Regions from separate parts of the Homo sapiens genome. Here regions 1, 2, 4, 5, 6 and 7 are each linked to region 3. The links are contacts of gene promoters, found by promoter capture Hi-C in human tissues and cell types (Jung and others, 2019). All regions are on one chromosome and are shown on one strand. Each heading gives the region's core, a stretch centred on a gene start or on the middle of the fragment in contact. The rest is flanking DNA. Distances are from core to core; before and after follow the strand shown.

The links. Contacts are between HindIII fragments. The study calls those that stand out against the background at their distance.
Region 1: a fragment that was not itself captured here is called in contact with the fragment with the promoter of ZNF564 in region 3 in 1 of the 25 tissues and cell types used here (lymphoblastoid cells).
Region 2: a fragment that was not itself captured here is called in contact with the fragment with the promoter of ZNF564 in region 3 in 2 of the 25 tissues and cell types used here (hippocampus and lymphoblastoid cells).
Region 4: a contact is called between a fragment that was not itself captured here and the fragment with the promoter of ZNF564 in region 3, in 4 of the 25 tissues and cell types used here (IMR-90 fibroblasts, dorsolateral prefrontal cortex, hippocampus and 1 more).
Region 5: a contact is called between a fragment that was not itself captured here and the fragment with the promoter of ZNF564 in region 3, in 2 of the 25 tissues and cell types used here (aorta and lymphoblastoid cells).
Region 6: a fragment that was not itself captured here is called in contact with the fragment with the promoter of ZNF564 in region 3 in 3 of the 25 tissues and cell types used here (IMR-90 fibroblasts, dorsolateral prefrontal cortex and hippocampus).
Region 7: a fragment that was not itself captured here is called in contact with the fragment with the promoter of ZNF564 in region 3 in 2 of the 25 tissues and cell types used here (hippocampus and lymphoblastoid cells).

The regions. Positions count from the first base shown.
Region 1 is chr19:11,758,035-11,761,085 of GRCh38, reverse strand. No RefSeq gene overlaps it. Among named protein-coding and RNA genes, the nearest start is that of ZNF441, 7.4 kb to the left of the region's middle. The HindIII fragment of the contact is 5,499 bases long and covers 1-3,051 here.
Region 2 is chr19:11,980,708-11,983,741 of GRCh38, reverse strand. No RefSeq gene overlaps it. Among named protein-coding and RNA genes, the nearest start is that of ZNF433-AS1, 5.4 kb to the left of the region's middle. The HindIII fragment of the contact is 4,224 bases long and covers 1-3,034 here.
Region 3 is chr19:12,549,762-12,552,956 of GRCh38, reverse strand. ZNF564 (zinc finger protein 564) reads left to right here and starts at 1,475. Exons shown (of 4, transcript NM_144976.4): 1 at 1,475-1,627. The coding sequence starts at 1,625. It overlaps LINC02926 (long intergenic non-protein coding RNA 2926), which reads right to left and starts at 1,231. Exons shown (of 2, transcript NR_187485.1): 1 at 88-1,231. RefSeq lists enhancers at 1-424, 1,208-1,502, 1,568-1,677, 2,336-2,838 and a silencer at 1,908-1,987. The HindIII fragment of the contact is 29,302 bases long and covers 1-3,195 here.
Region 4 is chr19:11,946,026-11,949,019 of GRCh38, reverse strand. ZNF700 (zinc finger protein 700) reads right to left here. Exons shown (of 4, transcript NM_144566.3): 2 at 1,713-1,839; 3 at 1,446-1,506; 4 at 1-744. It also overlaps a transcript of ZNF69 not described here. Among named protein-coding and RNA genes, the nearest start is that of ZNF763, 18 kb to the left of the region's middle. The HindIII fragment of the contact is 4,250 bases long and covers 1-2,994 here.
Region 5 is chr19:11,876,489-11,879,942 of GRCh38, reverse strand. No RefSeq gene overlaps it. Among named protein-coding and RNA genes, the nearest start is that of ZNF69, 9.6 kb to the left of the region's middle. The HindIII fragment of the contact is 3,977 bases long and covers 109-3,454 here.
Region 6 is chr19:11,843,761-11,847,119 of GRCh38, reverse strand. No RefSeq gene overlaps it. Among named protein-coding and RNA genes, the nearest start is that of ZNF439, 3.3 kb to the left of the region's middle. The HindIII fragment of the contact is 5,747 bases long and covers 1-3,359 here.
Region 7 is chr19:11,687,632-11,691,117 of GRCh38, reverse strand. No RefSeq gene overlaps it. Among named protein-coding and RNA genes, the nearest start is that of ZNF823, 50 kb to the left of the region's middle. The HindIII fragment of the contact is 6,716 bases long and covers 1-3,486 here.

The DNA.
Region 1 (3,051 bases), core at 46-2,545, 790 kb after region 3:
TCACATGGAGAATGGGCTGAATGTGGTAGCTCAGGTTCCCTTCTTTTTTAATATGGCCATCAGTCCCACTCCTGAGATAACTCATTAATTCAGTAAGCCATGAATTCATGAATGGATTAATTTATTTATGAGGTCTGAACCCTTAAGATCTACTCACCTCTTAAAGGCCTCACCTTTCATTAGTGCCACATTGGCGATTATGTTTCAACAAGCATTTTGGAGGGGACAAACATTCAAACCTAGCAGTGAATGGCCGGGCGCGGTGGCTCACTCCTGTAATCCCAGCACTTTGGGAGGCTGAGGTGGGTGGATCACGAGGTCAAGAGATCGAGACCATCCTAGCCAACATGGTGAAACCCTGTCTCTACTAAAAATACAAAAATTAGCTGGGCATGGTGGTGTGCGCCTGTAATCCCAGCCACTCGGGAGGCTGAGGCAGGAGAATCGCTTGAACCCAGGAGGCGGAGGTTGCAGTGAGCCGAGATTGCGCCACTGCACTCCAGCCTGGAGACAGAGCAAGACTCTGTCTCAAAAAAAACAAAAACAAAAACAAAAACAAGCAAAAAACCTAGTAGTGAATGATCAGGTATGCTCCCTCTGCCAAGCATATCACAAAAGTTTGAACTCTCAGAGGGAACATAGGAGTTCAGCAGATACCATATTTTTTACATAGTTTAGGGACACTCATCCTCCATTATCGCTTATGTTGGTGAAGCCCCCTAACTAAATTTAGTTCCTAGATATAGTGAAAGGTTCAACTTTGTGAGCAAGCATTTGTAACAATATGCGGTCTCAGGACAGCTGATGTTAACTCTTCTGCCCATTAGGTAGGAGGACTTTGTCACATCAGGAATTACAAACATCCTGTACACATAGATATTAGGGGTGATCTAGGCAATAAATGTCACTCCTTTAACTCACCAAGGAGTGGCATTTTATAATTCGACTGTTATTTTACCAAACACGTTTAATTCTAGCATTAGAATTGCATTCTGGGAGAAAATGAGTTTAGAAAGAGGGTAAGAGTTGGATTACCGTGTCGTTGCATAAATGTTTGGACACCACAGCATCATGTGACATTTATGTAGTGAGTACAGATTCCCAGTGCTGTCAGTTTCAGCTTTCCTCCTCTGCACGTGTCGGGTGTTTCAGGACTCAGTGGCCTTTGAGGATGTGGCTTTGATCTTTTGCCTGGGAGGAGTGGGCTTTGCTGGGTCCATCATAGAAGAGTCTCTACAGAGATGTGCTACGGGAAACCATCAGGAACCTAGACTGTATAGGTAAGGGGGACATCATGTCTTTACTTAGTCAATTACGAATATTTGTTTCTTCGTCACCAATGCTGTTCAAAGATTTAGAATATAAAAGAAATACGTTTGACCCTTGAACAATGCAGGGATTAGGGGCACCAGCCCTCAATGCAGTCACAAATCTTCAAATAACTTTTTTCTCCCCCGCAACTTGACTACTAATAGCCTACTGTTGACCAGAAACCTTACTGGTAAGATATACATTCAATTAACACATATTTTATATGTCATATGCATTACATATTGTTTTCTCACAATAAACTAAGGCAGAGAAAAATGTTAATCAGAAAATCACAAGGAGAAAAAACTATATTTACTATTTCATTAAGTAGAAGTGGAGCATCATAAATGTTATCATCCTTATTGTCTTCACATTGAGTAGGCTGAATAAGAGGAGGGGTTGGTCTTGCTGTCTCAGTAGTAGCAGAAACTGAAGAAAATTTGTATGTAAGGAGATCTATGCAGTTCAAACCTGTGTTGTTGAAGAGTCAACTGTGGTTTGGTGAATAAATCATCCATAACTGCAGTCTACATAAAATCTTACATTTTTAATATAATTTTATTTTTATTTATTATTATTTTTTTTTTGAGATGGAGTCTTGCTCTGTCACCCAGGCTGGAGTGTAGTGGCACGATCTTGGCTCACTGCAGCTTCTGCCTCCTGGGTTCAACTGATTCTCCTGCCTCAGCCTCCCGAGTAGCTGGGACTACAGGCGCACGCCGCCATGCCCGGCTAATATTTTTTTGTATTTTTTAGTAGAGACGGGGTTTCACTGTGTTGCCCAAGCTTGTCTCGAACTCCTGAGCTCAGACGATCCACCCACCTCGGCCTCCCAAAGTGCTAGGATTACATGCGTGAACCACCGCCCCCGGCCTCAATGTAATTTTATAATAATATATAGTGATTCTTCTGGGTCTACATTTTAGGAATGAAATGGGAAGACCAAAACATTAAAGATTAGTACAAAATTCCCAGAAGAAATCTAAGGTAATTTGCCCTAGGAAGAGAAAGATATGTCTTTGGAATAATTCTTAAAGTGACAGGAAATTTTTCACACCTATAATTCCAGCACTTTGAAAGGGTGGGGGGGTGGGGCGCAGTTCAGGAGGTCGGGAATTCGAGACCAGTCTGGCCAACATAGTGAAACCCTGTCTCTACTAAAGATACAAAAAATTAGCCAGGCGTGGTGGTGTGAACCTGTAGTCCCAGCTACTTAGGAGGCTGAGGCAGGAGAATCGCATGTACCCGGGAGGAGGACGTTGCAGTCAGTCGAGATCATGCCATTGCACTCCAGCTCAGGCGAAAGTGCAAGACTCCGTCTAAAAAAAAAGACAGGAAAATTTTAAAACAAGCAAAATAAATAAATAAATAAATAAATAAAAAAGAATAATCCTGGCTTAAATTTATTCACTCTTAGAAAATTTTCTTCAAAAACATACTTAAATGGGACATAGCTGTTAAGTGTGTCTGCAAAATAATTTCCTTGGAAAACAGTACTAAGAATTCCCACGTGAATATTACTGTTCCGATGATAGCCACAGTTGAGTTATCTTGCACAGCATTCAGTCCGTTCATGTTCAAACAGGGCATGACACCTAAGCTTTGCATGATAATGTCAACAATGTAAATTTAAGACCTATTAATATATATAAAAAACACTTATAAACAAACCTGTAGTAATTGTACTTCTCTGTTTTTACAGATATCATATGGTAGACTGATTCTGTAAAAGTAAAGGAG
Region 2 (3,034 bases), core at 242-2,741, 570 kb after region 3:
GGCAACAAGAGTGAAACTCTTGTCTCCAAAAAAACCAAAACATTTTCAGGCAGTATAAGATTTTCTAGAGAGAGAATGCTTTATCTTGTGAGGGAAACTTACCTTAGATTATTCCTGAGATTTTTGTACTGATCTTCAATGATCTGGTCTTTCCATTTTTTTCTTAAAATACAGATCCATAAAAAATAGTCCTGATTATAAAATTATGGGGTTTTTTTTGGAGATGAGGGTCTCACTCTATCACCCAGGCTGGAGTGCAATGGCATGATCACAGCTCACTGCAGCCTCAACCTCTTGGGTTCAGGTGATTCTCCTACTGCAGCCTCTCAAGTAGCTGGGATTACAGGTGCATGTCACCATCCTGGCTAAAAAGTTTGTAGAGATAGGGTTTCACCATGTTGCCCAGGCTGTTCTCAGACTCCTGGGTTCAAGTCATCCACCCACCTTGGCCTCTCAAAGTGCTAGAACCACAGGCATGAGCCACCATGCCCAGCTATTATAAAATTAGTTTAAAAATTATTAGATTCTATGTTCATGGCTCACTGCAGCCATTCCTGATTTATCAAAGTTTTCCCTGTCCATATTCCAAATCACTGAACAGCACTGAAGAGCTAGAAACACTTGTTCTTTAATAAACTGAGGGAAGTAATATTGTCACGTGATAGTTTGAATGTATGTTCCCACCCAATGTCATGAGGAACTGCAATCCCCAGTGTTGGAGGTGAGTCCTGATGGGAGTTGTTTGGGTCAGGGGGACCTATGGCTTGTTTCTCTCATGGCTTGTTGCTGTCTTTGTGATAATCAGTGAGTTCTAGTGAGCTGCACCTTCCTACACCACTCTCTCTGTCTCACTCCTGCTTTCGCCATGTGACTGCCTGCTCCCCGTTCACCTTCCGCTATGATTGAAAGCTTCCTGAGGCCTTCACCAGAAGCTGAGCAGATGCTGGTGCCATGCTTCCTTTACAGGCAGATGCCAGGCAGACGTCACTGTGAATCACTGTGCCCAGCAATGAATAATTCTTTACAAGGGGACAAACCCTGTCTGGACATGGTGACTCATGCCTGGAATCCTAGCACTTTGGGAGACTGAGCTGTGAGGACTGCTTGAGACAAAGAATTAGAGAACAGCCTGGGCAACACAGCATAATCCTGACTCTATTACTTAAAATTCTAAATAAAAGTCTGAAAAGCAGCATTTCCCACCTATTCTCTCTGAGGGAGCCTTCATCTACATAACAAGGTCTCCTTTGCTAGCCAAGCTTCTTCCTTTCCTTTAGCATAATCTGTCTTGCCATTAAAAATGACTTCCCCACCAAACCTGGAATTTTTTTGGCCATGCCAAGTCTGCATTTTTCCTGGCCTCAGAATGGTATGTAAGCTTTTTTGTCTTATTGTTGGGTGGGTCCTCATTCTGAAGGCTCCCATATATACATGTTAAATAAATTTGTATGACTTTTCTCCTATTAATTCGCCTAAGTTCCTTGATCTGAAAATTTTTTTCCTGTTTTCTCACCTTATTTTATTAAAAAAAGTTCAAAAACAAGCATATCTAAAAATGAGCATTTTCATATCCCAGAAATCAAGGTATTTTCCATAGATAACCAGAAAATGCTATTTAGTAATTGCCTAACATCAACACAGAGTGATATTAAAACCTTATTGTGTAAAGTGGAATTCTGGAAGCTTAGCTTTGAATACATTTCATTTTGTCTGTGAAACATTGAAGAGTGTGTGTGGTGTTATGATATGTATTGGTTTTCATCCAGGGTAATAATGTTGGGTGTGTTAGACCTCTGGGGAAGGCCCCTGACCTGCTGCCCTCTTTCCACTCTAATGTTTCCCCACCTTTTTGATTGTGGGTCTTAAAACCCTCCCATGAGAGGGTCCCACTGACTTCATGAAGACTTTTAGCCTTGGAAATACTCGTGATATTCCCTATCTGTAGCTGTGTGTCTGAAGTTAGCTCAGAATAAACCACAAGTGTGTAGATTGCTAAAATAACTTACTTCTAAACACTGAAACTCAAAAACTGCAGATTTCTTTGTCTAAGCAGATGCAGAAAAGCAGAAGTTATAAAGCATCCGGACTCAAACAGGCACCATCACTGCCTTCTAAAATTAGTAGCCTTCCTGGCATATGAACACCCTTTGGGCCTGTGCTCCAGTGTCTCTTTGGGTTGGTCCTTGGGCTTTTTGTGAAACATCAAGACACCTCCATAGTCTAGGCCAATGTCAGGCTCTCCAGTGTGTCCTGTTCATCACCCTCACCCTGCACTTTCATTGTCACTGTCATTGGCCATTCCAACATTGTGCTTGCATCCTGTGGAAAGTCACATTTGGGGTCAAGTGGATGGTGTTGTTTCTACTGTTTGGTTAAAAGTGTCAGGGTGTATTTGGCCTTCAAGGGAGGATAAGGCAGGGGTTGGATTCAGGTGCACCCAACTCTTGTTTTTTTCATTTTGAGACAGAGTCTTGCTCTGTCGACTAGGTTGGAGAGTGCAATGGTGTGATCTCAGTTCAGTGTAACAACCACCTCCCAGGCTCAAGCGATTCTCCTGCCTCAGCCTCCTGAGTATCTGGGATTACAGGGATTACACCACGATGCCCAGCTAATTTATCTATTTCTTAAGGTTTCACCATGTTGGCCAGGCTGGTCTTGAACTCCTGACCTCAAGTGATCCACTCTCCTTGGCCTCCCAAAGTGCTAAGATTACAGGTGTGAGCCACCGTACCTGCTCAGGTGCCCCCACCTCTGTCACTGCCCTGTCTTCCCTGCTGTGAATCATGCTGTGTGATCTGACAATCAATGATTCCACCCTTCACTGATGTGGATACATTATCTGGGACTGGGTATGTCATCTCCACACACAGACAGGGTTTGGTCAGTGATTGATGCTGCATCCCGTGATGCCTGGACTTTGACCTTAGGGAGTTTTAAATAAGCGTTTCTGAAGAGCAGCTTCATTGGAACCTTAATGAAAATGAATTTTTCCATGCCATTGCATAACATATAAAAGTGACTTTTCCATGTTGCC
Region 3 (3,195 bases), core at 226-2,725:
AAGCTGCAGAGCTGTGAAAAGCAGGAGACCCATGTGCAGATGTGGTTGGGTTGGGGGTGGAGGGTTCTGTCTTTTCTGAGGTTGTACCTTTGGCGCCTGGGGCCATTTCCTGGACAGTGTTTTGGTTTTAGCATTCATGGGGTCGCTGAGTCAGGCTGTAATTTGTATACATGAAGAAAATCTGTGAGGGTCAGACTCAGTGAAAAACTTGTTTGCATTGTCCCCTGGAGAAAAGGTTTGGGAACATGACAATTTATTTAGGTCACGACTTTACATTGACTCCGGGTGAGAGTTTCCTGCTGGTACAAATGAAGGTTTTGAAGGAAAGAGTGTTTCCACACTGTGAGGAGAGGACTGGAGGGCACCTTGAGCTCCCAAAGTTGAATTCTTAAGTGTCCCTGTCTCATCACCAGGTTCTGATCCACACTGGGGTTCCATTTCAGCAGTTAGAGTCTGGGTCCCAAGCTTGGGATTATTTTATTTTATATTTCATTTCTTCATTTCATTATTTCATTTCATTTCATATTTCATTTTTTAGTCTCGCTCTGTCGCCCAGGCTGGAGTGCAATGGCGCTATCTCGGCTCACTGCAACTTCCCCCTCCCAGGTTCAAGCGATTCTCGTACCTCAGCTTCCCGAGTTGCTGGGATTACAGGCACCTGCCACCACGCCTGGCTAATTTTTGTATTTTTAGTAGAGATGGGGTTTCACCATGTTGGTTAGGCTGGTCTTGAACTCCTGACCTTAAGCAATTTTCTCACCTTGGCCTTCCAAAGTTCTGGGATTACAGGCGTGAGCCACCGCGCCCGGCGCTTGGGAATATTTTTAACGTTATGATTGTGGGTTTTCCTTGTGAACTGCGGGTGAAGCAGGCTGCTTGTCTGAGCTAGTTCAAATGTTTGCTTACTTCTCTTGGTTTCTTTATAGATGATCGCTGTCATAAAAACTCCAGTTTTTCCTATACATTTAATACTTTTATTTCTTTGTCCGTTTTAATTTTCTTGCCTGAAAGAAGCAAGCCCTCCTCCCTCCTGTTACACTGTGGTCTGGCCTGGCCTGGGCGCGCCTCCTACTCCGAGGCCAGGGGATGGCTCCACTGGACGCCGAGTCTGTCATTCCCTGTGCACACTTGTGACTCTGTGTCCGGGAGGAAAAGGCAGGAAGGGCACCCTGAGTGCAGAAACACGCCAGTGTCACCTCTGCAGAGCCTGAAACACTTTCTGCTTAAATGCAAATATCCTCCCCGGCACAGAAGGTTACAGAAGGAGGAAGCCCGGCCCGCGAAGGGCAGTGGCCAAGACCCTGTCAATCTGTCTTTACTCAGCCACATACCGCATTGCTTCTCCTGTCACTCAGTACCAAGGGGGCAGGACTTGAATCATCACCCAATCAGGGGCACTGGGGCGGGAACCTGCAAACCATCCAATCAGGAACTCTGCAAGGGGGACAGGGGCAATGTTCAACAACTCCGCGGGGTCTTCCTGTTTCGTGTCCGCTGCGTTTGGGTTCCGGTCTCCGCTTCTCCAGTGGCCCCGGTGGCTCCACCGCAGCGTCTGGCGCGCTGGGACCTGCACAGGCCGGAGAGAGCCGTAGGCAGGACCCCGGGACACCCTGGAAGCCAGGAAATGGTGCGTGTGCGGGGCCGGGCGCCTGGAGACTGGGGGAGGGGCTTGTGGGAACCGGCCGGAACCGGCTGTGGAAGCACCCTGGCCTCCCTGCAGCGACTCCAGGGTCTGGGACCCGAGTTCCCTGGCGCAGCTCGGCCCTCTGTCCCCTCGGCCGCAGGGTGGGTTGGGCCGTAGCCAGTACCCCAGGCGTCCTGTCCCGTCCCTGCGCGGCGACTGCGGCCTCGGCCTCGGAGCCCTGTCTGGGCAGCTCCGCGCCCGCAGCCCCGCCTCTCTCCAGATTGTTTGTACTGGGACACGGGAGGGTCATAAGGCGGAATCCCGTCTCGGGTGTGCGGTTCGTGCATGGGAAGAGCTGTGGGCTGTGGCCTTCCCAGTACATCGTCTTTTTTTCCGGGGGACTGGTCTTCCTCCGAGTCTTCCAAACGTACTGGAAAAAGAATCTCAAACCTACGACTCCCGTTTTTTTTAGCCTAGCTTTTTCTGGGGCTGGAAATAAATGCCTAAATTTCCGGTTCCTTCCCCGCATTCCCAAAGGTGACCTCCCCTCGCCAAATCAACATTATCAGCTGTTTTTTGTTTGACATTTAAGACACAGTATTTTAGTTGTTTATAGTTTCTTTCACCATACTCTTTTGAAAGGATTTGTTTTCTGTTTGTTGTTTTTTTTTTCTTTTCAGACAGAGTTTCGCTCTGTCGCCCAGGCTGGAGTGCAGTGGGAAGATCTCAGCTCACTGCAACCTTCGCCTTCCGGGTTCAAGCAATTCTCCTGCCTCAGCCTCCTGAGTAACTGGGATTACAGGCATGCGCCGCCACGACCGGCTACTTTTTGTATTTTTGGTAGAAACTGGGTTTCTCCATGTTGGCCAGGTTGGTCTCAAACTCCAGACCTCAGGTGATCCGCTCACCTCCGCCTCCCAAAATGCTGGTATTACAGACGTGAGCCACCGCGCCCGGCCTCTTGTTTGTGTACTTGTAACCTGAGAGGGAAACGGAGAATAAGAACCTGACACTCTACGGTAAAATTTTTTTTTTTTTTTGAGACAGAGTTTCGCTCTTATTGCCCAGGCTGGAGTGCAATGGCGCGATCTCAGCTCACTGCAACCTCCACCTCCTGGGTTCAAGCGATTCTCCTGCCTCAGCCTCCCGTGTAACTGGGATTACAGGCATGCGCCACCATGCCCGGCTAATTTTGTATTTTTAGTAGAGACAGGGTTTCTCCATGTTGGCCAGGCTGGTCTCGAACTCCCGACCTCAGGTGATCCGCCTGCCTCGGCCTCCCAAAGTGCTGGGATTACAGGCGTGAGCCACCGCGCCCGGCCGTGGTAAAAAAATTTTTGTGCTTCCCCTCCTTTTATCTTTCCTAAGCCCCGACGCCTAATCAGAATGTCTTTGGGTGGAGTTTCCCCTTTGGAAACTTTACAAGGTGATGTGGCCCTCTATCTTTTCCTGGTCCTGATTTTCAGAACTGCCTGGGCCTGACCCAGGATACCCACAGCTGCCACTTCTCTTGGAGGATCTAGTGATTATCAACCCCTGGGTCACTCCTCCCAGAGGACAGCTTAAGGTGT
Region 4 (2,994 bases), core at 321-2,820, 600 kb after region 3:
TTTTTCCCAGAGTGGGTCCTTTCATGTCTACGAAGAGAACTGGTATATGCAAATGCTTTTCCACATTCTTTGCATTGATAAGGCTTCTCTCCCATGTGACTTCTTTCATGTCTATGATAGGAACTAGAACTATGAAATGCTTTATCACATTTGCTACATTCATAGGGCTTCTCCCCAGTGTGAGTTCTTTCATGTATTTGAAGGGTAGCAGAATAAGTAAAGGATTTACCACATTGTTTACATTCATATGGTTTCTCTCCAGTGTGAGTTCTTTCATGGATAAGATATAAACTGAAAGAATGGAAGGCTTTCCCACAAAATTTACATTTATAAGTTCCATCCCCACTGTGCATTACCATGTGTCTTCGAATGCTTGAATGGAAAATAAAGGTTTTTCCACAGACTTTACAAGCATAGGGTTTCTCTCCAGTGTGATCCCTTTCTTGTGTTCTAATGGATGGGCGATACCTGAAGGCTTTCTTATTTTTAGGTTGTTGACACTTATATGGCTTTGGTCCATATTCCTGATACTCATATGCCTTGTGTCCAGTGTCACCTCTGATGCTCATATTAAAAGATGAGTTACCTATGCCAACTTCTGCACACACAAAGCTGTCACATGATTTTACTTCAGGAGAAGCTTTCTTCTCCTGGAAGTTCAGTCTGTCATCTGGAACCTGGGTAAAAGTTTCTCCACAATGACTGTCTTCTTTAATTTCATTGACTTTCTCTTCTATGAGACTCCTGTAAAACATGAGAAACACATCATGAAGGGTTTGTTTACAAGTACTTCTATATTAATCAACAAGTATTGCACTTGCATTTTTAACACTGTCCATCAAAGTGTAGGCTTTCTGCCCTGTCTGAATCGTTTGAAGGTGACTGGACATGTTCTACAAGATGACCCAGCCATACCTATTGTTTAAAAAAATATTCATAAGGGGCTTCTTAATAGTATTCCCATGTAAACTATTTTACAATTACTAAATACTGTATGTCATTTTTCTTTTGAGTCCAGTTCTTGTCCTGTTGCCCATGCTGGAGTACAGTGATATCATCATAGCTTACTGCAGCCTTTAACTCCTGAAGTCTCGAGTGATCCTCCTGCCTTCGCCTCCTGAGTAGCTGGGACTACCGATGCATACACACCACAATGCCCAGCTAATTTTTTGCTGTTGTTGATATGTGGTCTCGTTATGTTGCACAGGCTGTTCTGGAACTGATGGCCTCAAGCTATCCTCCTATCTCCACTTCTCAAAGGACTGGGATTACAGGAGTGAGCCCTCAGCCTCAGTCACGTTTAAATATATGTTTTTTGAGAAAATATTCTAAGAAGAAATGAATTTGATGCTGGATTTAGTTCTTTGTTTTACTTCTCTTCAACATATTCTCATATTCTAAGATTGTGCAGAGAGACACTGCTTTCTCTTGGAAATGCAAATTACCTGAAGCTTCTTCTGGGGTTTTGGTACTCATATTCAATGTTCTGGTCACTCCATTTTTTTCCTAAAATACAGACACAGAAAAATAGTCCTGAAGCAGTATAAAATTGTGAAAAAATTATTAGATTCTGTGCCCATGATTTACTGCAGCCATGCCTCATTTATTCATCAAGGTATTTCCTGTCTATGTTCAAAATCACTCAACAGCATTCATGAGCTAGAAACACTGGTTTGCTAATGCACTGACGGAAGGAATATTGTCATCCTTACCTATAGAGGTCAGGTTCCTGAAAGTTTCCAGCATCACTTCCCTGAAGAGATTCTTCTGGGAAATATCCAGCAATGTCCACTCTTCCTGGGTGAAGTTCACAGCCACATCCTCAAAGGCCACTGGGTCCTGAAACATCTCACATGTGTAGAGGAAGATGGGTGAGAGTGACAGCACTGGAGGCCTAGACTCTATTCCCAAGAAGTTCTCAGGATGCTGTGGACTCCAAACATTTATTCCCTGCTTCGGTTATCAGATCCCTTTCTCTCCATCTATACTTACTTTCTTCCATAAAGCAATTTATTTATTTATTTATTTTTTGAGACAGAGTTTCACTCTTGTTGCCCAGGCTGGAGTACAATGGCGTGATATTGGCTCACCACCGGGGTTCAAGCGATTCTCCTGCCTCAGCCTCCCGAGTAGCTGGGATTATAGGCATGTACCACCACGCGTGAGTGACCTTTACCCTTTCCCTCTTGTAGTGTGAGTGTTGTCTTGTCTCGAAAGAAAAATGGGTCAGACACAAAGTAAGCCCACCCCACTAGGAACTATGTTATAAAAAATTTCAAAAAGGGATTTAAGGGAGACTATGGAGTTACTATAACACCAGGAAAACTTAGAACTTTGTGTGAGACAGACTGGCCAGCATTAGAGGTGGGTTGGCCATCAGAAGGAAGCCTGGATAGGTCCCTTATTTCAAAGGTATGGCACAAGATTACCTGTAAGCCAGGGTATCCAGACAAGTTCCTGTACACAGACACTTAGTTACAGCTGGTTTTAGACCCCCCACAGTGGTTGAGAGGACAGGCAGCAGCAGTGTTAGTGGCAAAGGGACAGATAGCCAATGAGGGATCTCTCCCCACCCGCCAAGGGAAGTCAGCTCCTAAAGTTCTATCTGACCCAATGTCAGAGGACCCATGGCAGGAAATGGCACAGCAATGCCCCCCGTCCTTACCTAGAAGAGAGACTCCCCACTCCTGAGCCCACAGCACCTGTGCCTCCTCTGGACAGATACACCCCTAGACCACCCAGAACAGACAAGAGAGAATGTGAAGCTGCGGGAGAAACCCCTCCCTTGGCAGCTCATTTACGATCTAAGACTGGAAAGACAAGTGCCCCCAGTTAAAGAAGAAACAAAATGGCTCCAAGCCAGAGGTCTCAGGCAAGGATGAAAGGGCCTTGTTTAATCTGGCAGAAGGGCTACTGGACTAAGGGGGACCAGGCTCAGGTGCCCCTAACGAGCCCATGGTCAGGATGACAGTCAGGGACAAGGACATAGAGTTT
Region 5 (3,454 bases), core at 848-3,347, 670 kb after region 3:
TTTATGTATAAAGTGGGGAAGGAAAATTCTAAGATAACTTAAGTGCATTTAAAAGATTTCCAGATCGTGGTGGAGGTGGCAGCTGAGGGACGCACGTTCAGTGACACTGCAGTACCTCCGGGCCTGGCTGGTTGGAGAGAGGGTGGAGAGCTGGAGATGAATGTGGATATATGGAGGGAGCAGCCCTGGGAACCGGGCTCTGCAGCAGCGCGGCTCTAGGGCCTGGAGCCCGGGGGAGCAGAGATGATGGGGGCTCCTGGGACAGGACGCTTGGGGAGAAGAGAGTCAGGCGGTTTCCATGGGACAGGGGTGCTGTGGCAGCTGGTGTGGGCCTGTGGCTATCATAACTAAGCCCGATTGGGACGTGAAAACTTGGATTCCGTGGGAATTTATGAAGAGGAAGGCTCTGATGACAAAGAAGTCATCGATGAGGAGAGGGATTAGGGTCACTGGCAAGCTCGCCCCCTTATGGAAAGAAAAGTGAACGTTCAGCTACTGCGGCAAAATGGGGTCAAAGGATGAGACTCTCACTGTCAGGGAATAAATTGCTGCAGAACTCTTAGAGATTGCAAAGACCTTCAAACAACAGCCTGGGAGGCCGGGTGCCATGGCTCACGCCTGTAATCCCAACATTTTGGGAGGCCAAAGTGGGAGGATCGCTTGAAGCCCGAGATTGGAGACCACCCTGAGCCGTGAAGTGAGACCCTCCCATCTCCATAAAAAATTTTTAATTACCAAGGAGAAGTGTGTGTACCTACAGTCTCAGCTACTCAGGAGGCTGAGACAGGAGAGTCACTTGAACCCCAAAGTTTGAGGCTGCTGTGAGCTATAATTGGGTACTGCGCTTCAGCAAGACACTGTCTCAAAACAAACAAACAAAAAATTAAAATCCCACCAAACTCCCTGGGGAAACCCTGTACCCCTTTGATGGTCAAAGTGTAAAATACAGCAGGTGGTGACATTTCCTTATGGACTGGATCATTCTAGCCACGTAAGAGGCTTGGCCTACTGAAGATTTACCAAGCGGGATCACCTCCTTGCAGTCAGTGGAAAAAGCCCCCGGTGAAACCATCCCTTTAAACTTTATCAAATTCATCAGGGAGGATGGGAGGAGGAAAACTTAAACCAAGCTTGCGGCACCTTCAGCATTAATCATCAAGTCAGCTTGTTCTCTGACCTTCCTCATATTTGTTTCATACCTAGTGTCCTAGAATCCCATAGACCCTAAATGATAGTTCCCGTTAACTGCTCTATACATAACAATTTGAACATTAGATATTTTCCCTTATAAATATTCCTTTTTGAGTTCTGGGTGCATTGGTTCATAACTGTAATCTCAGCACTTTGGGAGGCTGAGGTGGGAGGATCACTTGAGCCTTGGAGTTCAAGAACAGCCTGGGCAATAGAGTGAGACTCCATCTGTACAAAAAATTTAAAAACAGCCGGGCATAGTGGCATGTGCCTTTACTCCCAGCTACTTGTGAGGCTGAGGCAGGAGGATCCCTTGAGCCCGAGTTTCTACAGTGAGCTATGATCCCACCACTGCACTCCAGCCTGGGAAACAGAGCCATACTATTTCTCTTAAGAAAAAAAATCCAGACATTTGTTGGTCTTTGGATTATTGGAGAGCATTTATCTGACACTTAGCCCAATGTTTTAGAAAGGGGCACTTTGGGACTGGGACACAGCTCTGAAGGAAGCTTTGGACAGGTTAATGTGTTAGTATGGCAGGCACAAGCCTCAGGCACACCTTTAGAGGGTAGAGCTGTGACTTGGGATGATATAGTTGCTGCTGAGGGTACAATTTGGGACTTACGGCAACCACAGTGTGGTAAATCAGTCCCTTTAGGATTGTGGTTGTAATTATGACATGGAGATGAAACCAGACACTCTTGAGTCAGTGCAGGCAGTATATAATGCTTTCCAGCAGGTGGAATCCTTAAGAAAGAGCCTTTGCATGACTGTGAGAATGGGAGTACCATGCCCAGCTAATTTTTTTGTATTTTTAGTAGAGATGTGGTTTCACCATGTTGTCCAGGCTGGTCTTGAACTCCTGAGCTCAGGTGATCCACCCGCCTCAGCCCCACAAAGTGCTGGGATTACAGGTGTGAGCCACCGTGCCTGGCCTCCCACTAAGTTTCTTTCATTTGCCCTGGCACAGTTTCTCATGCCTTAATCCCAGCATTTTGGGTGGCTGAGGTGAGTAAATCGCTTGAGCCCAAAAGTTTGGGCTATGACCACACGGGGCAACATAGGCCTAGTCTCTATTTTTATTAAAAACAGAATATACACACACATATGAATGAGAGGCCGAGTGTGGTGGTTTATGCATGTAATCCTAGTGCTTTGGGAGGCCAAGGCAGGTGGATCACCTGAGGTCAAGAGTTCGAGAACCACCTGGCCAACATGTTGAAACCCCATCTCTAACTAACAGTACAAAAATTATCTGGATGTGGTGGCACGCACCTGTAAACCCAGCTACTTGGGAGGCTGAGGCAGGAGAATCACTTGAACCTGGGAGTCAGAACTGGCAGTGAGCCGAGATTGCATAATTGCACTCCAGCCTGGGTAACAGAGCAAAAACTCCATCTCAAAAAAAAAAGCAAGAAAAAAAAAAAAGAAAAACTTTCTTTTTAGTCCCTAGTTGGTAGGCTATCACTAATATCACCAGCAGTTGTCTATGAGGCAAACCTGTTCTCACAATGGGTCCAAAAGGAAAAGTAGATTTGGAGACATTACAGGTAGATCCAAATGCAGCACTTGTACGACAGTATATGGTTAATGTGAGGACTCTTGGGGTGACTTAGCTCAGGCTAGTATAACAAAGTACCATGGACTCAGTTTCTTAAACAGCAGAAATTTGTTTTTCACAGTTCTGAAGCTTGGGAAGTCTGAAATCTTGCTGCCAACAATTTTGTTCCTAGTGAAGGCTATCTTCCTGGCTTGCAGCTAGATGCCTTCTTGCTTTGTCCTTACATGCTGGAGAGGCAGAGTTCTCTCTCTCTCTTACTAATCCCATTGTGAGAGCCCTCCTTTATAAATGTATGTGATCTCCTAAAAGGTCCGTGTCCAAATATGACCCTGTTGGGGTTTAGGACTTGTAACTATAAATTTTGTTTTTGAGACAGGGTCTCCCTATGTGACCCAGGCTGGTTTTAAACTCCTGGGCACAAGGGATCCTCCTGCCTCAGCATCCAAAAGTACTGAGATTACAGGCGTGAGCCACCGCACCCGGCCTCTAAGTATATATTTTGAAGAGAGTAAATGCAGGGCATGCCAAGGGGTAAACAGAAGTCCAAAAAGAGGCTTTGGAGACGATGTAATCAGACAGGACTTTATCACATAGCAGATGGGGAGCAAGAGTCACAAAGGAGTGAGGTCCAATTTCAGAATGGCAGAGAGAAGGGACATCGAGGTAGCTGTATGATTGCATGAAGGATGAAAATGCATGCCA
Region 6 (3,359 bases), core at 349-2,848, 710 kb after region 3:
AAAGACCTTTCAACAACAGCCTGGGAGGCCGGGTGCCATGGCTTACACCTGCAATCCCAACATTTTAGGAGGCCAAAGTGGGAGGATCACTTGAAGCCCGAAGTTGAAGACCACCCTGAGCAGTGAAGTGAGACACTCCCATCTCCATAATTTTTTTTTTATTAGCCTGGAGAGGTGGTGTGTACCCTTAGTCTCAGCTACTCAGGAGCCTGAGGCAGGAGGATTACTCGAGCCCCAAAGTTTGAGGCTGCTGTGAGCTTTGATCAGGCTACTGTACTTCAGCAAGACACGGTCTCAAAAAAAAAAAAATCCCACCAAATTCCCTGGGGAAACCCTGACCCCCTTGGATGGTCTAATTGTAAAACACAGAGGGTGGTGACGTTTCCTTATGGACTGGATCATTCTAGCCATGTAAGAGGCTTGGACTACTGAGGATTTACCAGGCGGATGACCTCCTTGCTGTCAATGTAAAAGGCCCCTGGTGAAACCATCCCTTTAAACTTTATCAAATTCATCAGGGAGGAAGGGAGGAGGAAAACTTAAACCAAGCTGGCAGCACCTTCAGCATTAATCATTAAGTCAGCTTGTTCTCTGACCTTCCTCATATTTGTTTCATACCTAGTGTCCTAGAATCCCACAGACCCTAAATGATAGTTCCCGTTAACTGCTCTATAGACATCAACTTGAACATTAGATGTTCTCCCTTTGAATTTCCATTCGAAATATTTCCTTTTCAGGGCTGGGTGCATTGGTTCATGACTGTAATCTCAGCACTTTGGGAGGCTGAGGTTGGGGAATCACTTGAGCCTGGGCGTTCAAGAACAGCCTGGAAAATACAGTGAGACTCCATCTGTACAAAAAAATTTATAAACAATTGGGCATGGTGGCATGTGCCTTTATTCCCTGCTACTTGGGAGGCTGAGGCAGGAGGATCCCTTGATCCCAGGAGTTTCTGCAGTGAGCTATATGATCCCACCACTGCACTCCAGCCTGGGAAACAGAACCACACTATGTCTCTTAAAAAACAAAAAAGAAAAAAGAAATCCAGACATTTGTTGGTCTTTGGATTATTGGAGAGCATTTATCTGACACTTAGCCCAAAGTTTGATACCAATATATAGAATTATTAGAAAGGGGCACTTTGAGACTGGGACACAGCTCTGCAGGAAGCTTTCGACAGGTTAATGTGTTAGTATGCTGCCATACTAACTTCAGCAAGACCTGGTCTCAAAAAAAAAAAAAAATCCCACAAAACTCTCTGGGAAAACCCTGACAACCCTTGGATGGTCCAATTATAAAACACAGCAGGTAGTGATATTTCCCTATGGACTGGATCACAAGCCTCAGGCACACCTTTAGAGGGTAGAGCTGTGAGTTGGGATGATACAGCTGCTGCTGCAGGTACAAATTGGGCCTTATGGCAAACACAGTGTGGTAAATCAGTTCCTTTAGGATTTTGGTTGTAATTATGTCATAGAGATGAAACCAGACACTCTTGAAGTGAACAAGTGCTGGCAGTATATGATGCTCTCAAGTAGGTAGAATCCTTAAAAAAGAACCTTTCTATGACTGTGAGAATGGGATTACCATGCTCGGCTAATTTTTTGTATTTTTAGTAAAGACAGGGTTTCAACATGCTGTCCAGGCTGGTCTTGAACTCCTGAGCTCAAGTGATCCACCCGCCTCAGCCTCCCAAAGTGCTGGGATTACAGGTGTGAGCCACTGTGCCAGGCCTCCCACTAAGTTTCTTTCATTTGGCCTGGCACAGTTTCTCACGCCTTAATCTCAGCACTTTGGGTGAGCGAGGCGGGTAGATCGCTTGAGCCCAAAATCTTGGGCTATGACCACCCTGGGCAACATAGTAAGACCTAGTTTCTATTTACTTTTATTAAAAAAGAGAATATATATATATACACACACATATAAAAGAGGCCGAGCACAGTGGTTCACACCTGTAATCTTAGCGCTTTGGGAGGCCAAGGCAGGTGGATCACCTGAGGTCAAGAGTTCGAGACCAAGCTGGCCAACATGGTGAAACCCCGTCTGTAACTAACAAAACGAAAATTATCCAGGCGTGGTGGTGCACACCTGTAATCCAAGCTACTCGGGAGGCTGACGCAGGAGAATCACTTGAACCCAGGAGGCAGAAGTTGCAGTGACCCGATATCGTGCCATTGCACTCCAGCCTGGGCAACAAGAGCAAAAACTCCATTTCAAAAACAGAGAGAGAGAGAGAGAGAAAGGAAGTTTCTTTAACTCCCTAGTTGTTATGGGCTATCACTACTATCACCAGCAGTTGCCTATGAAGCAAAACCTATTCTCACAATGGGTCCAAGAGGAAAAGTAGAAGACTTGGAGACATTCCAGGTAGATCCAAATGCAGCACTTGTACGACAGTATATGGTTAATGTGAGGACTCTTGGGGTGACTTAGCTCAGGCTGGTATAACAAAATACCATGGACTCATACCATGGACTCAGTTTCTTAAACGGCAAACATTTGTTTCTCACAATTCTGGAGTGCGGGAAGTCCAAAATCTTGCTGCCAGCAATTTTGTTCCCAGTGAAGGCTATCTTCCTGGCTTACAGCTAGATGCCTTCTTGCTTTGTCCTCCCATGCTGGAGAAACAGAGAATTCTCTCTCTTCTTACTAATCCCATTATGAGGGCTCTCCTTTATAAATGTATGTGATCTCCTAAAAGGTCTGTGTCCAAATATGACCCTGTTGGGGTTTAGGGCTTGTAAGTATACATTTTATTTTAGAGACAGGGTCTCCCAGTGTGGCCCAGGCTGGTTTTAAACTCCTGGGCTCAAGGGATCCTCCTGCCTTGGCCTCCCAAAGTACTGGGATTACAGGCATGAACCACCGCACCCGGCCTCTAAGTACACATTTTGAGGAGAGTAAATGCAGGACACGCCAAGGGGTAAACAGAAGTCCATAAAAGAGGCTTTGGAAACAATGTAATCAGACAGTGTTGGAGGCTGAAAGAATGGGGGTCCTGATCAACTCAGTATACCACTGGAGGCTAATGAGCAAACAGCAAACTCTTCTCATGAATGCAGCTTGTTGGCAAACTGACAAACTACGTCTGCCACCCAGAAAGAATGCTGAGGGCAGTTACTCCCCAAGCGCAGTGTTTCTTGTGATTATCTACAGGCACATCTGAAGCCTGTTGTACAAAGAAAGTAATCATGTGAACCTGTGATAAATCAAGCAGCTGACCAACCATTACCTCCTCCTCCCTGCTCTTTCTACCCAATAAAAACAAAGGGCTATAGAAGCTCAGGGCCCTTGCTCACTAGAAGCAAGGAGCCCCCTGATCCCTTCTTTAACATAGATCTTTTGTCTTTATTTCTGCA
Region 7 (3,486 bases), core at 654-3,153, 860 kb after region 3:
GAATATTCCATGGTCTCCTGTTTCAGCCTCCTGAGTAGCTGGGACTACAGGTGCATGCCACCACACCCGGCTAATTTTTGTATTTTTAGTAGAGACAGGGTTTCACCATGTTGGTTAGGCTGGTCTCAAACTCTTGATCTCAGTTGATCCACCCACCTCGGCCTCCCAAAGTGCTGGGATTACAGGCATGAGCCGCCGCGCCCGGCCTGAATGTGTATTATCTATATACACCAGTAAAAAAGACAGGCACTGGCAGAGTAGAATTAAAAACAAGGCCCAGCAATGTGTAAAAGATAACCATTTTCAACAGAAAGACACAGATACCTTAAATAGAAAGGTATGGTGAAATATATGCCATTCTAGCCCTACTCAAAAGTATGGAACGGCTATATTAAATTCAGATAAATCAGGTTTTTTGGTTTATTTATTTATTTATTTATTTTTCGAGACAGGGTCTCTGGCACCCAGGCTGGGGTGCAGTGGTGTGATCACAGCAACCTGTGCCTCCCGAACTCAAGCAATCCTCCCACCTCATCTGGGACTACAGGCGTGTGCTACCATGCCTGGCTAATTTTTGTATTTATTTTTTGTAGAGACAGGGTCTCTCCATGTTGCTCAGCTGGTCTTGAGAACTCCTGGGCTCAAGTGATCCACCCATCTTGTCTTCCTGAGATGAATCACGAGGTCAGGAGATTGAGACCATCCTGGCTAGCATGGTGAAACCCCGTCTCTACTAAAAATATAAAAAATTAGCCAGGCGTGTTGGTGGGCACCTGTAGTCCCAGCTACTCGGGAGGCTGAGGCAGGAGAATGGCGTGAACCCGGGAGGCGGAGCTTGCAGTGAGCCGAGATGGCACCACTGCACTCCAGCCTGGGCGATGGAGCGAGACTCCATCTCAAAAAAAAAAAAAAATACACATTCAAAGTGGTAATTGACATAGATTAATATGTTCATATATATTGTTTGTTGTACTTGTGCTTTTTTTCTACTTGCTCTATTTTTCTGCCTTTTAATTGAGCGTTCTATATGATTCCATTTGCTTGCTTCTATTAGTGTAGTAAGTCTACTTGTTTCTTAAATTTTATTAGTGAATTCCATAGTTTGCAGTATACATTTGCAACTAATGGACTTTCATTTTCAAATAACACTATACTGGTGTCTGGGGTAGTGCCAATATGTTAAGAGTGTTCTGAATTCCTCTTTCCAATCCCATATAATATCACTGTCACGCATTTGACCTGTTAGAAGCTATAACCACCCAATACATTGTTGATATTCATTTGAACAAACATTTATCTATGAAGGAGAAGAAAAGATAATCATATTTGTGCCCTCATTTAATTATTTTCTAACAAGTTTTATTTCTGAAACATCTGCTTTCCTAACCTGTATCAGTTTCCTTCGCTCTGAAGAACTTTAACATGACTGGCAAGGCAGGTATACTAGTAACACATTCTCTCAATTTCTTTCCTCTTTCTTTTCCACAGACTGGTAATTTTTTTCTTTCTTTTTTTTTTTTTTTTTTTTTGAGATGGAGTTTCACTCTCGTTGCCCAGGCTGGTGTGCAATGGCGTAATCTCGGTTCACTGCTACCTCCACCTCCTTGGTTCAAGCTATTCTTCTACCTCAGCCTCCCAAGTAACTGGGATTACAGGCATGCACCACCACACCCAGCTAATTCTGTATTTTTAGTAGAGACAGGGTTTCTCCATGTTGGTCAGGCTGGTCTCGAACTCCCGACCTCAGGTGATCCACCCACCTGGACCTCCCAAAGTGCTGGGATTACAGGTGTGAGCCACCGCGCCTGGCCCAGACTGGATAATTTTAATTGTTTCATCTTCACAGTTGCTGATTCTTTGTTATGTTAGCAAGTAGTGAATTGGCTCACTTCCAGATGTACACACAAGCCAATAGCATGGCACCAGCTTTTGAAGAAAGAAAAGCTTTACTACAAGTTTGACTGGCAAGGAGAAAGGAAGAAATGCTCAAATATGTCTCCCTGAGCTGGGGGCTTTGGCAAGTTTTATAAGCGTGGGGTAATAAGACATGAACTCACTGCATCTTGCAATGATCTCATGCCAGGTTAATGTGACTCGATTGGATCCTGCCATGGGATGATACCGGGGCCCAACCTGATTAGATCCTAGATTCCACCATGTGGTATCTTTTTTTTTTTTTTTTTTTTGAGACAGAGCCTCACTCTGTAGCCCAAGCTGGAATGCAGTGGCATGATCTCGCTCACTGCAACCTTCACCTCTGGAGCTCAAGCAATTCTGCCTCAGCCTCCCAAGTAGCTGGGACTACAGGTGTGCGCCACCACACCTGGTTAATATTTTGTATCTTTCACAGAGACAGGGTTTTACCATGTTGCTCTGGGTGGTCTTGAACTCTTGAGCTCAGGCAATCCACCCACCTCAGCCTCCCAAAGTGCTGGGATTACAGGCATGAGTCACCGTGCCCAGCATCTACTTTTTACTTTAATCTCCACACCTCAGTCCAAGCATATAGGTTCCACCCATGGTTACACATTTGGTTCATCTGGGCATGCTCAGATTATGTGACCTTGAGTGTTGGGTCCATGGCAACTGAAAACTCAGCTTTGTTATATAGAAGTTGTACCACATAATCTGTTGTGGTTACAAATCCCTCCTATTATGTTCATTCCTAAGTCTTGAAGGAAAAGGAATGATAACTGCTCTAACTACTTTCTGCTGATTAGAGTCATAGACCTTAGAGGAATGAAAGTATTTAGTGCTTTGCTCTGGGAGTTCCCTGGTATCAGCCAGGTGCGGTGGCTCACGCCTGTAATCCCAGCACTTTGGGAGGCCGAGGCACGTAGATCACAAGGTCAGGTCGATTGAGACCATCTTGGCCAACAGGGTGAAACCCCATCTCTACTAAATGACAAAAAATTAGCTGGGCGTGGTGGTGCGCACCTGTCTCTCAGCCACTTGGGAGGCGGAGCTTGCAGTGAGCTGAGATCACGCCACTGCACTCCAGCCTGGGCAACAGAGCAAGACTCCGACTCAAAAAAAAAAAAAAAAAAAAAAAAAAAAAGGAGTTCCCTGGTATCAAGATCACATTTTAGAAGGCGTTATTTCTACATAGTTCTGGGGAAAAGGCATAAGGAGTTTGCAACCTAAACATTATTTGTTCCAGAGAACAAGGGAAAGCTTAGGTTTTATAGCAAAAGTTCCCATCTGGGTTCCTAGTCAAGTGCTTTTATGCAAATGAAGATCTGAAACTTGAAACTCAGTTCTGATTGGTTGATACAGCTGAGCTCTGATTGACTAGCTCAGGTGAGCCCCCAAAGTTAAAAAGGTGTTGGTTTTCAGGAAACTCACAGTGCTTGTGACCCCTAGTTAACAAGTGGCGGCTTAGCTCTTTTTAAAACTTAGGCCCAGTTAGCCAGTGTGAAGGACTGACTCTAACCCGTCCACAGACAGCATTCATAAGTTTTTGTGTGTGTTCTATCATGGTACCAG